Linked DNA regions of Homo sapiens: region 2 is linked to region 1. Evidence: promoter capture Hi-C in 16 types of primary human blood cells and fetal thymus (Javierre and others, 2016). All regions are on one chromosome and are shown on one strand. The core of a region is centred on a gene start or on the middle of the fragment in contact, and the rest is flanking DNA. Distances in the headings are between cores, read along the strand shown.

Region 1 (6,733 bases), core at 2,942-5,441:
CCTATGTTTGAAAGAATGAGCATAAAATGGAGAACTATCACTTGAGGCAGGGGCAACCTCTGGGGGAAGTGGGGCTAGAGGAGGCTCTGATGGGAGATGGCACAATACTCAGATCTTGCCAGTTTTCCACTTTTGCAAAGACTGACCTACCGTCCAAGACTTACAGGCCGCCTCATGATATGAGAGGCTCATTCAAGCACTGAGTTTACACACACATGCACACACACACTCTCACTTGCCACAGCCACCCTAAATGGGGAAGGGCAAAGGGAGGCCCTCTGTTCCCCTTAACCTAGAGGGCAAGGGCTAGTGACTCAGTCCTGGCTGGGCACTCCGATGGGCAGCTCCCTCTCAGCTTCCCCTTCTGCTGTGGAGCTACAACTGTCCCTGCCTTTGTTCCTTCAATTCTCAAGCTCCCTGACTCAGCCTCGTTCCTGAACTTCCCAGCAGGGGACAAAGCCCTTGTCAGTGGGGTGGTGTGGGGGCAGTGGCAGTGAGGGGGATCTGGGGGAAAGCTGTAGAGTCAGAGTTCCAGTCCTTTTCCCAGTCTCAACCTTCAGGGTCCCTCAGCCTTGCCAGTTCAGTGGTCACCTCTAGGCTCCTCCCCAACTTGCCCAGATCTCTCTCTGAGGCCAGACTGATGGGGTGGAAATGGTTAACTAGAACCTTCCTCCCACCCAGCTGGGCAAAGTCTGACACCTGGTGGCCAAGGTGAGTAATGGCCAGAAGGCCCCTTTTCAAGTCTTCCCGGAACTGCTCCAGAGCCTGGATGGCCAAGGTGAAAGAGGAGGTGACTAGAGAAGAAGGTGTGGAGGGTGGTAGGAGCAGGACAGAAGATGCAGTGGTAGAAAAACCCAGAGACCCCATCCTTTCCACTCAAGCTGCTGCGATGGAAGCACATTAGGCCAGAGAACCTGGACCAGGGGAAGAGGGAGTGTCTGGGAAGGCAGTGAGGGACTAGGAAGGACTGCCTGAAAGAATTCTGGCCCACAGGGTGAGGAATGGGGCCCACGGTGTGTGAGTATGTTGGGGGCCGGGGCCAGGGGTATTCTGGCTGCCCAGAATCTCCTGAGTGGGACTGACTTTCAGCTCAGGGTGGGTGGCAGGGCCCAAGGGCCTGAGGAAGGGGGGTACTGGCGAGAGGGAAGAAGAGCTGGATCCACCCCACAGCCCACTGGGTCCCAGGCAGCTGCTCCCCTCTCTCCACCTGCCTCCAGCTTCCCAGCTCTACCTGGCTCTCCCCACAAACCTCATGGTGAGGTGGGGGAAGGGAATGCAGGTGCAGTGCTGAGGCCCCCATTCTACCACATTGTCTGAGCTAAGCCAGACCTAATCCTTCCCTTGAGTGCAGTCAGCGGTGGGCCTCAGCCCCTGGGAAGGTGCCGGGTTCCTGTTTCAGTTCTTTTCTCTCCTGGACCCCCAGGACTCTGGGCTTGGCCCTGAAGCAAGGGTCTTGGGTATTGTTACCAGGCTGAGGTGCAAAGGTCACTCCTACTAGTCTCATCACCAGCCTCTGGGTGTCGGGGCTGACACAAGGGTCTCAGGACATTCCCCCAGGGAGAGAGAACTCAGCACCCAACCCAGAACTCTGGCCTGGCCATCCAGTCTGAAGCCTGAACAGGCTCCAAGACAGCAGTTTAGGGAATGAGGCCAGGATGCTGCCTGAGTAGGTGAAGGGGTTCTAGGCAAGAAGGTACAGAAGGTGGATGGGGTTGGACAGCAAAGAAGGAAAAGACCTGAGGACAGGAAGGTCAAGGTCCAGCCTAGTCCTCAGCGCACCTTAGGGATTCAGGTGCTGAGTCAGGGCATGCCAGTTGGACAGGGATGGTTCCAAAATCCCTGGGTGCCAACTCTTTCCTAGGGGCTCCACCCTACTGCCATCTAAGAGAGAGCAGCAATGCTGCCTGCAGAGAGTTCCCTCAACTCCAAGGCAGAAAGCCAGGCCTAGGGTGCCTGCACTTGAGCTGACCACTCTGAATCTTTTTCTTGGGTGTGGGGGTAGCTGAAGCCTGAGGGAGACATCTTCCAGCCTGGGTTGGGGCCTGTGCCAGGCAAAGCTGGGGAAGCTGGCAGGGACAGCCCAGCCAACATCTACAGAGCAGCTCAGGATGCCAGAGGCTGCCCAAGGAGAAAAGGCAATAGGCCCAGGCGGTGGTAGGAGCTACTGTGGCTGCCCAGCGGCACACCCCATTTCACGCTCCCTGGGCGGTGGCAGGGCCCCACGGCTATCAGCTTTCAGGGGTGGGAGGGACTGGGAATGAGGAGGGGTCTGCCCCACCCATGGCTCCCTACTCCCTCAGGGCTTGGTGGACTCAGGAGGTGGGTGCCACACACCTCTGGAAACAGCCCAGGAACCCTTGCCAAGACCCTCTGGGGAGGGGTAGTCAATCCCCCAGAGCCTAGACGCCATCCCTACCTAGCATGCTCAGCACCTGACTGGACTCAGCACCTAGGCCCTTCCCAGCCCTGGTAGACAGGGCCTCCCTGCTTCCATCACTAACTCCGCAGGGACACTGTCTCCCTGAATGTGGGCCCCACTTAGTCCGCAAGGCAGATGGGGGGATTAGACTAGGCCCAGCCCAAACAATACAGCAGAAAGGGCCCTCCAGCTCCATGCAGTGCCCCCACAAGCTCCCTCCTCTAGGACGCCGATGGGGAGAGCCAGGCAGGACGTGGACCCTGAAGACATGGCCTGCTCCTCTGCCTCCCCTCTGGTGGTCTCCTTTCCAGAGCAGCTTCCTCCCTTGTGCCCACGTGTACCAGTGGCTTAGCCCTCTTCCAGTGCAGAACACCCAGACCCCAGAGCAGGGAAAGGAGGAGGCAGAGGCCTCTGAGCAGGCAGCAGCCCAGGAGTCTGTGCCCCACCCTCCCAGTATCCCTGGAAGGAAGAACCGGATGGGATCTCTGGAGGGTGATTAGAGCTGGGCTGGTCCCTGTGCTGGTTCCCAGACTCCCACTGGCCAGTACTTTTGCCTCCTGCCAGGAAGTTGGTGAGGGGGAGGCAGCAGTATGGGTGAGTCAGTGATGACAGGAGCCCAAGGGACAAAGGTCATGGGTGGAGAATTGAGAGACATTGTTTACAGCAGTCCACCTCCTCCAGGAGGCCTTCCAATGCTAATCATCCCTGTGGTCCTAACCAATCTCTGACCCACCCTTTCCCTCTTCTGGTAGGAATTATAGCCTCTCACTGACAACTGTGCATCTGTCTGCCTTGTGACAGTGAGCTCCTGGGGTGCAAGAGAGACTGTGGTTTGATTGGGGCCCTACAATGCCTGTGACTATCAGCAGTGATAATCATTTAGCTATACTTCCTACTTTCAAAAACTTTTTGACATCTATTTTAATTAACATGTGGGAAAGTGCTTAGAACAGTACTTGGCACATGGTACGTGCAATGAGTGTTAGGTTTATTATTAATATTTTCTGCTCAGACTCACATTATTGTGAGAGACAGGGCAGATTTTGCCAGTGAAGAACTAGGGATCCAAACACATTGTGGTGGGGGGACCAGACCCTTGCTCTGCCTTCCTACTCAGTATGGAATCTTCCTGACTGGTGGGGCGGGCCGGACACGACTTGGGACCCCAGGAGAGTCAAAACGGCAAACACTTACTCGGACTAAGAGTGGGCAGCATCTTTGGGCACAGACTGTGAGAAAGGAGGTTTCAGAACCCATGGGCTTCTCCAGCCAGGTCTCCTGGGGCCAGTGGGGGTTGGGTGGGAGCCGGGAAGGGGCCTGGATTAGCCCAAACTCTCTTCAGACCTCCAGACCTGCCCCCACAAGGCGGGGCGGGCCAAAGGACCGAGTGAAGGCTCCAGCTGGACTCTAGGGAGTTACAAACTGGCCACGGGGATTAGCGAAGCTGAAAAGAACATTTGCCTAGGAAGGGAAAACGGGAAGTGAGAGGCTGAAGATAACTCTCCTGAAGTCTCTCGGGACCCACAGCAGACCAATGGGGGCCGGGGAAGGTGGTGAAGTCGGGGCATCCCGACAGGTCCCCCGCCCCAGCCTGCCCCTCCTCCCGCGGCCCACAGCTGAGGCACCGCCCCGCCCCTCACCCTACACTGCCTACCATTGGCTAGCGCCAGGGCCCCGCCCCGCATAGGCGGCCTGCCATTGGCTGAAGTCTTTCCTGTTTGCGTGCTTTTGGGGGTGGGGGAGGCGTCCCTCCCTGGACCCCGGCGACTTCCTCTCTCGGTTTGTCTGGGTCATCTTGTCTGCCCGCCGCTGGCCTGGCCCCGTCTGTCTCTCTCAGCAGCTGTCTTTCTCGCGCCCACTGGCCGGTCTCTCCTCTTCCCCGCAGTTGCCTCCTTCTCTGCCTGCCTGGGTGGCCGCCATGGGCCGGAAGCGGCTCATCACTGATTCCTACCCGGTTGTGAAGAGGAGGGAGGGGCCCGCTGGGCACAGCAAGGGGGAGCTGGCACCCGAGCTAGGTCTCTGAGGTGTGAGGGAGGCAGGAGGAGTGGACACGGAGGGGCCTAGAGGAGGCCCCTAGAGGGGCGGAGGGGCCGATGGAAAGGGAAAGGTGGCCTGTCCTCCCCTCCCGACACCAGGTCTAGCTGCGGGGTGGCAGAGGCAAAGCGGTGGTGAGGAAGGCTGGGAGGTGAGGGGCAGGAGACTGAAGCCAACCTCGTACTGAAGAGCAGCTGTCATTGCAGGGGAGGAGCCCCAGCCCCGCGACGAGGAGGAAGCGGAGCTGGAGCTGCTGAGGCAGTTTGACCTGGCCTGGCAGTACGGGCCCTGCACCGGTGAGAACCCACCCAGCCCCACGGAGGCGCCTCTCCCAGCCAGTCACCCACACGTCTCTGAAGTCACCCAAGCGCTTGCGTGACTCTGACCCTCAGGAACTGTCTCCCCCCAACACACACATTCTCCAGCTCAGACTCTACCCCACCCCCCACAAGTCTCCAGAGTCTTCTTCCCACCCTGGCAGGGATCACACGGCTGCAGCGCTGGTGTCGGGCCAAGCAGATGGGCTTGGAGCCTCCCCCAGAGGTGTGGCAGGTGCTGAAGACCCACCCCGGAGACCCCCGCTTCCAGTGCAGGTCAGAGACAGGCCGGGAGGGCTTTCAGGGGAGCCAGGGCCTTCTCCAGGCACTGTCACCCTGCTGTCCTGACCTGAGGGAGAAATGGATGGAGGGTTGGAAGGCCTTGCTGAACAGGCAAGAAGATTCTATGAGGTGCCTGGCTCAGGAGGACACGCCACTATAATAATTCTTTTTTTTTGAGACAGAGTCTTGCTCTGTTGCCCAGGCTGGAGTGCAGTGGCGCGATCTCGGCTCACTGCAAACTCCGCCTCTCGGGTTCACGCCATTCTCCTGTCTCAGCCTCCCAAGTAGCTGGGACTACAGGCGCCCGCCAACACGCCCGGCTAATTTTTTCTATTTTTAGTAGAGACAGGGTTTCACCGTGTTAGCCAGGATGGTCTTGATCTCCTGACCTCGTGATCCCACCCACCTCAGCCTCCCAAAGTGCTGGGATTACAGGCGTGAGCCACCACACCCGGCCAATAATTCTTACCTCTACAAGCTAGTGGGGGGCAAAGGTACACCCAGGACCCAAGGAACTATCTATTTAGAACTGAGGGGTTTCCCAAGGACTATGGGCATGGCCAAGAATAAGCTGGTGAAATCAGATCCAGGGACTCAACAACTGATTCTCTGTTTCTCTCTCTCTCTCTCTGGGGTATCCCTCCCTCCCACCCCATCTTCCACAGTCTCTGGCATCTCTATCCCCTATGAGGCACCACGTAAGACCTCCTGCCCTTAGCTCTCTTGCTCACCACCCAAGAACCTCAGGACAGAAGCGAGAGCCCATTGCTCCTGCTCAGCTCAGCCCGGCTGCGGAGGAACCCTTGGCAGGCAGAACCTGGAGGTGTCAGAGGCTCAACTCCTCCATCTAACCAGCAGGCTCCCAGAGTCCCCGGAAGAGCCTGCGCAGCTGAAGCAGAGTGCTTCTAGATGGAGAGTGGTCACTGGGGAAAAGGACCTGGCCATCACCTTCCAATACCTGCTGCCTGTCTCCCTGACCCATGATCTGGCAAGTTAGGCACAGTCAGACATGGACAGTTGATCCATGAGGAAAAGATGCTCTCCCACCTAAGGCCAGGAATCTGAGAGCAGGACTGGCTGAGCTCCCAGGGCAAGGGGTTCACTAATGCTTATCAATAAAGAATATTGAGCCTGGAATCCTGACCTTCAGTCCTTTACTGTGGCCCTGCTTTGACTGGCAGTCCCTAGCAAGTTAGGAGATGAGAGAGGCACCACTACAGCTCTTTTCCTTCAAGAAAGTCCTAGGCCGAAGAGGGAGGAGACAGTCATCTTGAGACGGATCAAGTCCTCGGAAGAGCTGAGCGACCTCTGGTGCCCCCTGGTGGCCCACAGGGAAACTACTCATGACTCACCTTCTGGAGCAGCCAGGGAAAACCTACCTGACTAGCCAGCCACCTGCCTTGCTAAGCGGTGCCCACCTCACAAACATGGGTGCTTTGCCAGAGAAGGACCCCTGGGGTCCATAGCTCATGAAGTCCAAACATATCTATACATTCCCAGCAAGCACCTCTGGCTTCCCACATCGGGGGCCACCTTGATCCAAAGCAGGGCTGGCGAGGGTCTCAACTTGCAGGACCTGCTCAGACATGACCATCATCTGAGGGGCTTTGGTAAGAAACTGATGGCTGGGCGCGGTGGCTCACACCTGTAATCCCAGCACTTTGGGAGGCCAAGGAGGGCG
Region 2 (6,733 bases), core at 1,823-4,322, 100 kb after region 1:
AGGGCTGCTCACTTACCTGGCAGCCTATTGACGAGCCATGTCAGTTGCTTTTTAGAGATGTTGGTCCAACTGAGGTCAAGGCTGACTGGCTGCCTCTTGATGATGCCACTGAGGGCCTGGGGCACAATGGCCTTACACCTACTCAAGTCAATTTTTGTCCAAAGTCTCTTGTCGCAGCACCTGTGATAGAAGGGAAGAGAACTCGCCTTCATTAACTTGATCAGTGGAGCTCCCATCACAGGCTGCTTATGGCTTCTGGGAAAAGCAGAGTACCTGGAGGCTCGTTCTTCTACAAGTGTACAGGGATCACACCTTATCATTTTTTGCCTCACAGAATAGGCAAAAAATTGCCTTGAACTCTACAACAACTAGACGCTTTGCAAACCTACATGTTGATAGTATATAACTTGACCACTTTACCCTGATTTATTCTGGAGTGTTTGAGAACACAACAGTTGTTAGGGACCCATAGCAAGCAACAGTCTATAGCCCCTTCATCTGTATTAAAATGGCATGGTTCCTGCTGAAGTGTATATAAGGGAGCCTCTTGAAGTTTCTAGACTTCTTACTGTCTAAAGCTAAGAAGGCCTGCTCCGTTCCCTCCCTTGTCAATCACTCGCAGCTGCCTGAAATGCAGGGTGCTACTCAGCACATCCACAATTCACCCTGCCTTCAGCCCATTACTGTATCAGGTCAAAAGAGGCTCTTTATCAGGCTTACAGAGTCCTCTCTCACCCTCAAGTTCTGCCTCAGTGCTATCCTGACATTTTCTAGCCAGGCCAGACCAGAACTGAAAGGGATAGGCCTGGCTTTCCACTGCAGTCTACAAATCTACAGGCCACAAACCACAACATGCTGGCTTCAATTTAATATTTTATAGCCCCTGCCCCCCAGCCTGGTTGGCAGGGGAAGAGAGACAGCACATAACGGGAATCTGATGTGCCTTGCCCTGAAAACCAAGAGGTAGAGCCAAGCAGTCCTATTAGCCCTAGACAGAGAAATATTAAGGAGAATTTAGATACACTATACATTAATTCAGATTTGGGAAATAAACTCATGTTTGCAAAGAATAGGGTCTATTTAGAGACTGAAACAATTTTACCAGTGGCACATGAAGCTTCTATGGCAGAAGCAAGCTGCTGACAATACAGCAGATTTTGCTGCTCTAAACTCGAGCATGCATCAGAGTCCCCTGGAGGAGCGCTTGTTAAAGCAGACTGCTGGGCCCACCCAAGAGGTTCTGATTTAAGAGGCCTATGAGGGTCCTGACAGTTGACATTTCTAAAAAGTTCCTGAGTGAATGCCATTGGTCAGGACACCACACTACTGTAATAGGATGTGTGTGACCCAGATAAAAAGGATATATCCTAGAGTAAATATATACCAGAGTTTAAGGAAAAACCAACAATGCCCAATGGGAAGCTCCTTGTTCATCATCACTAGCAATTTTTTCCCCCAAGTGTCTGTCCAACTTAAGAAGAAATGGTAGCTCTCATTAAGGAAGCTTCAAAACTGGACTCTGCTTGCTGGAAGAGGGAATTCTGATCCAGGTTTGGGGGGATGAGCATTAAAACTGAAGAAAAATGTTAAGCACCTTCAAATTCATCTTGAAAAGCATGCCCACTTCTCTCACTGAATGGAGAGGTAATTGAGTCAGGGGCTTAAGTGAGGTTATCTGTGTTATCAGCACCAGAAGAGTGACTAGAACATCATAGGCTCTCAACCAACATGTGATGAGTTCAGCTGACTTGAGGAGGAAATTTTCAGCCCGCAAGACTCTCAAGTTTTATCACAGACTACAAATCTATCCCGCAAATCAGTCTCCCTCCCCATAACAATGAGACATGGGAAAGTATAGAGCAGGGCCAGGAGGCAAATGGCCAGTTCCCTAATGACATCTGCGGGTACAACAGGCTACATCTTTAAACAGGACCCAAAGTTTGGGAAAAAGGGTCAATTCACTCCTCATAAGACCCCACAGGCTTTCAGATGCCAAGGTGCATGCTGTTCTCATATGGAAAACCTGCCACCTACTCCCATACCCCTAATTCCTGACCCCCTGAATCCCTGCTCACCATTTATACCACGTCTTGCACACTCGCATACATTCACAAAGTTCTCTGCGGCTGAGGTAGCGGAAGACAGACATCCAGACCTCCCGCTGCATCCAGCTTTCGTCTCCATCCTGAGCCCAACTGCCCCGGCCATTCAGCCTGGCTGCACCCCCCTCCTCTGCACTGTCATCTTCCTCCTCCTCCTCCTCCTCTTCCTCCTCCTCTCCCCCCAGCCCCTCCTCATCCCCACGCTGGGGGGTTCGGGCTGGGCAGTGCTGCACTAGCACACGGGGGGAATGGCGAAGGTTGGCAGAGGAGGCCGTGATGGCCTGCAGCTTGGGCACAATGGATGTCCCGTGGAGCTCTTTGGTGGGCCTCTGTAGCGTGACAGTGAGGTACGATCCCCGGATCTTGGCTTTCTCAACTTCAGACAGCTCCTTTTTGCCGCTGGGATTGTTCTCCTTTTCCCGTACCATGGTGCGCTCTGTGGCCTGCAGCCGCAGCAACTGCCGCCGTTTGAAGCGCTCATCGCGGCTGGCACTGTGGTGGTCGCTGGGGCCAGCCCCAGGGGATGACCGAGTCACCATACCCCGGGGGGAAACCGGGTCATGGATGAGCTGCAGCATGGAAGTGGGTGAATGAGGCGGGGGCGTGAGAGGCTCATCGCAGCTCCGCAGGGGCCGCAGGACTTTGGCTTGCACAGCTTCTTCGTCACTCTCTTCCATTTTCCGCTTCTGCAAAACAGGCCCAGAAAAGCAACATCAGTGCTTCCTTTCTTCCAAACCCTCTGAACCGACAGGGTGGACCTCCCTTGCTCTCAGGGGACCAGAGAGAAGAAAGGTCACGTTGGAGAGGGGGTCATTCCCTCAGAGTCGGCCCAGGCTGGTCTCCAACTCCTGGGCTCAAGTGATCCACCTGCCTTGGCCTCCCAAAGTGCTGGAATTATAGGTGTGAGCCACTGCACCTGGCCTGACCATTTTTAATTGCGTCTCTGACTTACCTCTTTCACCCAAGAGACGTATTTCTGTTTCATGGTGGAAAAAGCCCACATATACCATTTGAACTAAGATCCTGAGTCTGACAATGGTAAACACCATTGGCTTCTAGCTCTACCACAGTCTAAGTTTGACTCCACCAGGCTGCGTCTTCCACTCCAACCCCCACGTGAATAATAAAGCAGATAACAAGAACCTCTCTGAGAAACTGGGTTGCTACAGAGAGATTCACTCAGGATTATGGTGAGGAATCCCACAAGAGCCCCCAACTTTATCTGTGGCATTTGTGCTCTCTAGATACTTGTCTTTTCCTGGAGCCCACTATGACTATGCTATGACAAAGCCCAGTAAACATGTTCCACTAGGAACCGTATCAGTAGTTCAGGTTTTTTGCAAGGAGACATTTTATGTCTCTAAGCAACAACCCTGTTCTCTGCTCCTTTTCCTCCTTACATTTTTTTATCATTATGGTTGGAAGAAAATGACCACCTTTTGGGTGCTACCTTTTCCAATGTATTAGAAGGTAATACTAAAACACAGCCATCTGCCAACAACACATCTGCTACAGCAGAGATGCAAACACTCAACATCACTAATGAAGACACATGTAAAGGTCACTAGTGCAAGAACTAAGGAGAACTTTGGCCCTAGTCAACTTCAAAAATCCTTGCCCTCAAAGACAAATAGATTGAAAAATTCAACTATCTTAGTATCCAAGTGGGAAGAAATAAAAAGTAAGAAAATTCCTTTCTGCCCCCTTCCCTGCTCCCGTGCAAGGGTCCTTGAAAGACTGGCACTTGGAAAGCCATCTCCTCCTGTAGGTGTCCACAGCTGGTCTTGCCTTGTCAGCCTGAGTAAGTACAGTCCTTTTGGCCCTTTGACATTATTGGCAACCACTGGTCAGCAACCTCAGCTCCTCTGGGCCAAGGTCATAGCACTGGTCCTCTCTGGGGGAGGGGCTGCCTCCACATGACACATTTGGGCATGTGGGATGGGCAGGGCAGGGCTTTCTGCCAGGCCACAAAAGTGAAGATGACAAAAATGTGAACCTGCTTAACTGGAAGCTCAAGTACACTGCTGCACTCACTGGCTGCCTCAGGCCACTGCCTCTCCTCTAGTTAACATTCCTCAGGAGGGATCATACTCACCTAATTTCTCTCCTCAAATAGCCCAGCCGTGGTTCCTCTCTTTGTAGGGCCCCAGAGTATAAAAGGACCTTAGGAATTTGCAGATCCCAAGTGGAACAACATTTAGTAATACAAAACACAATGCTACAAACTCTAACAAAGAAAATACTAAAAATTAACCAAAGGAAAAACATACCAAACCAAACAAAAATAATCTCCTAGGTCAGAGAAACTGTGTGAACACTAATGCAAAGGCAAACGTGTAGCAATCCCCCACATTTGATGCCTCCTTTCTGTCACAGTGCAAATCTGATAAGGTTCCTTTACCTGGGCTTTCTCCGAGCTGTCCTCCTGGTAGCACTTTGGACATTCCCAGCAATTTGGCAATTCTTCGTTAAGCAACCCCTCTCCGTCCATCTATAGGAAGACAGAGATGTTTTTAAAAGCCTGTCTCTCAAGCTTCCTTTATCCAACAATAACACAGTTGGGAAGAGTTACTCATTTCTCAACAACATTGGTCCATAAAGGGAGAAAAACTGTGAGCAATCCAGCCCCAAATAGCCAATGGTGCTGAACCTGATCTTGACAGTGCGGCACAGGTTCTGATAGCTTGGGTTTAGGGACTAATGCTCTAGTCTCTGTGACTCAGTGTTCTCCACTGTAAAATGTTGGCTGATATTATTACCTTCACTTTCCCTCAGGAACTAATACACAGAGATACAACAATATAATTGCCAGAGATACAACAAAACCCACCTTATAGGGTTGTGGTGAAGATTATTCATTGTGTAAAGAATTTAACAAAGGTATGGCATACAGAAAACCCTTTGTATTAGCCATTATCATCATCATGGAATTAATACCCTATTTCACCAATTCTTTGGGTTTGAGATATGTTAATAGATGTAATATGCACCATTTACATCTTCACCAAGTTATAATTAATCAAACAAACTTTTAAGATTGTAAAGTTGGCCGGGCATGGTGGCTCACGCCTGTAATCCCAGCACTTTGGGAGGCCAAGGTGGGGAAATCACTTGATGCCAGGAGTTCAAGACCAACCTGGCCAACATGGTGAAACCCCAACTCTACTTAACACAAAACTAGCTGGGCATGGTGGTGCATGCCTGTAATCCCAGCTACTCAGGAGGCTGAGGCAGAAGAATTGCTTGAACCCAGAAGATGGAGGCTGCAGTGAGCCAAAATCTCACCACTATACTCCAGCCTGGGCAACAGAGGGAGACCATGTCTTAAAAAAAAAAAAAAAAAAAAAAAGATTGTAATGCTGTTAAAATATCCTAAGAATCAGGCTGGGTGCGGTAGCTCACACCTATAATCCCAGCACTTTTGGAGGCCAAGGCGGGTGAATCACTTGAGGTTAGGAGTTCGAGACCGGCCTGGCCAACACGGTGACACCCCATCTCTACTAAAAACACAAAAATTAGCTGGGCGCAGTGGCACGTGCTTGTAATCCCAACTACTAGGGAAGCTGAGGCAGGAGAATCACTTGAACACCAGAGACAAAGGTTGCAGTGAGACGAGGTCACGCCACTGCACTCTAGCCTAGGCAAAAGGAGCAAGACTCTGTCTCCAAAAAAAAAAAAAAAAAAAAAAAAAAAAAAAAAATATATATATATATATATATATATATATATATATAAAATAATTTATAACATTAAATGAATAAATGTATAATCGTGCCACTGCACTCTAGCCTGGGCAACAACACAAGGCTATGTCTCAAAAACAAAACAAAACAAAAACCCGGTTCTTCATTCAACATATGCTTAATGCCTCCAAATACTGACCTACTATTGTTTCTGTTATAGATTTGCTACTATATAGTATTCAAAAAAACCAAAAATCTATAAAAGGTATACTTTTCACATTTTAACCTTTCTGAAATTGGGCTGCTTCTCATGAATGACAGTGTCTTATTATCACTGTCAGGCGACAGTCATGATTTTAGCTGATACTTTCTAAGAAGGCCAAGGAAACAGTGGTTCTCCACAAAGGCTGCACAATTCGGATCAGTAGGGGAGCTTTTGGAACACAAGGCCCATGCTGGACTCAATCTCTGAGGCTGAGATCTGAATTTATTACTTTTTATTACTTTTTTTTTTTAAAGCTATTTAGCTCTGCACTGAGTCTGATACAGACTCAGCACTCATTAAATGTTATCTGATATTATTATCCTCACTCTCCCTTAGGAACTAATATCCAGAGGTACACTGAAGTATGTATCAGAGATGCCTAAAGGCTTGAGGCATCCCAAAACACACCATGCAGTTCCATTATGGCCTGGGAACTCTACATACCCAATCCAGAGTCCAGATTCTAAGCTCCATGAGGACAGGAACTGGGTCTATTTTGTGTACTGTTCTATCCTCAGGGTCTAACGCAGTGCCTGACACATTGTACATATATGAATCAAGGGCTGATGTTAGACCACTGCATTATGTGACCACAGAGCTGATGGCCTACAGTAGGGATGCTGGCACTCCCATCACAAGTGTCCCATTCTGTTGTGTCACTCACTCCATTAGCTGAGACTTCA

What was found. The method cuts DNA at HindIII sites, captures the fragments that hold promoters and counts their contacts. A CHiCAGO score of 5 or more calls a contact.
Region 2: a contact is called between a fragment that was not itself captured here and the fragment with the promoter of POLD4 in region 1, in 2 of 17 cell types (total CD4 T cells and non-activated CD4 T cells). The highest score is 6.1, in total CD4 T cells.

The regions. Positions count from the first base shown.
Region 1 is chr11:67,351,004-67,357,736 of GRCh38, reverse strand. POLD4 (DNA polymerase delta 4, accessory subunit) reads left to right here and starts at 4,191. Exons shown (of 4, transcript NM_021173.5): 1 at 4,191-4,434; 2 at 4,660-4,749; 3 at 4,935-5,046; 4 at 5,718-6,733. The coding sequence starts at 4,338. The coding sequence ends at 5,742. The region is part of intron 2 of LOC100130987 (a long non-coding RNA gene); the gene reads right to left. RefSeq lists a silencer at 3,874-4,123 and enhancers at 4,304-4,353, 4,347-4,928, 4,929-5,511. The HindIII fragment of the contact is 23,887 bases long and covers 1-6,733 here.
Region 2 is chr11:67,246,141-67,252,873 of GRCh38, reverse strand. It overlaps KDM2A (lysine demethylase 2A), which reads right to left. Exons shown (of 21, transcript NM_012308.3): 16 at 4,504-4,593; 17 at 2,076-2,788; 18 at 17-180. Among named protein-coding and RNA genes, the nearest start is that of GRK2, 17 kb to the left of the region's middle. The HindIII fragment of the contact is 3,131 bases long and covers 1,507-4,637 here.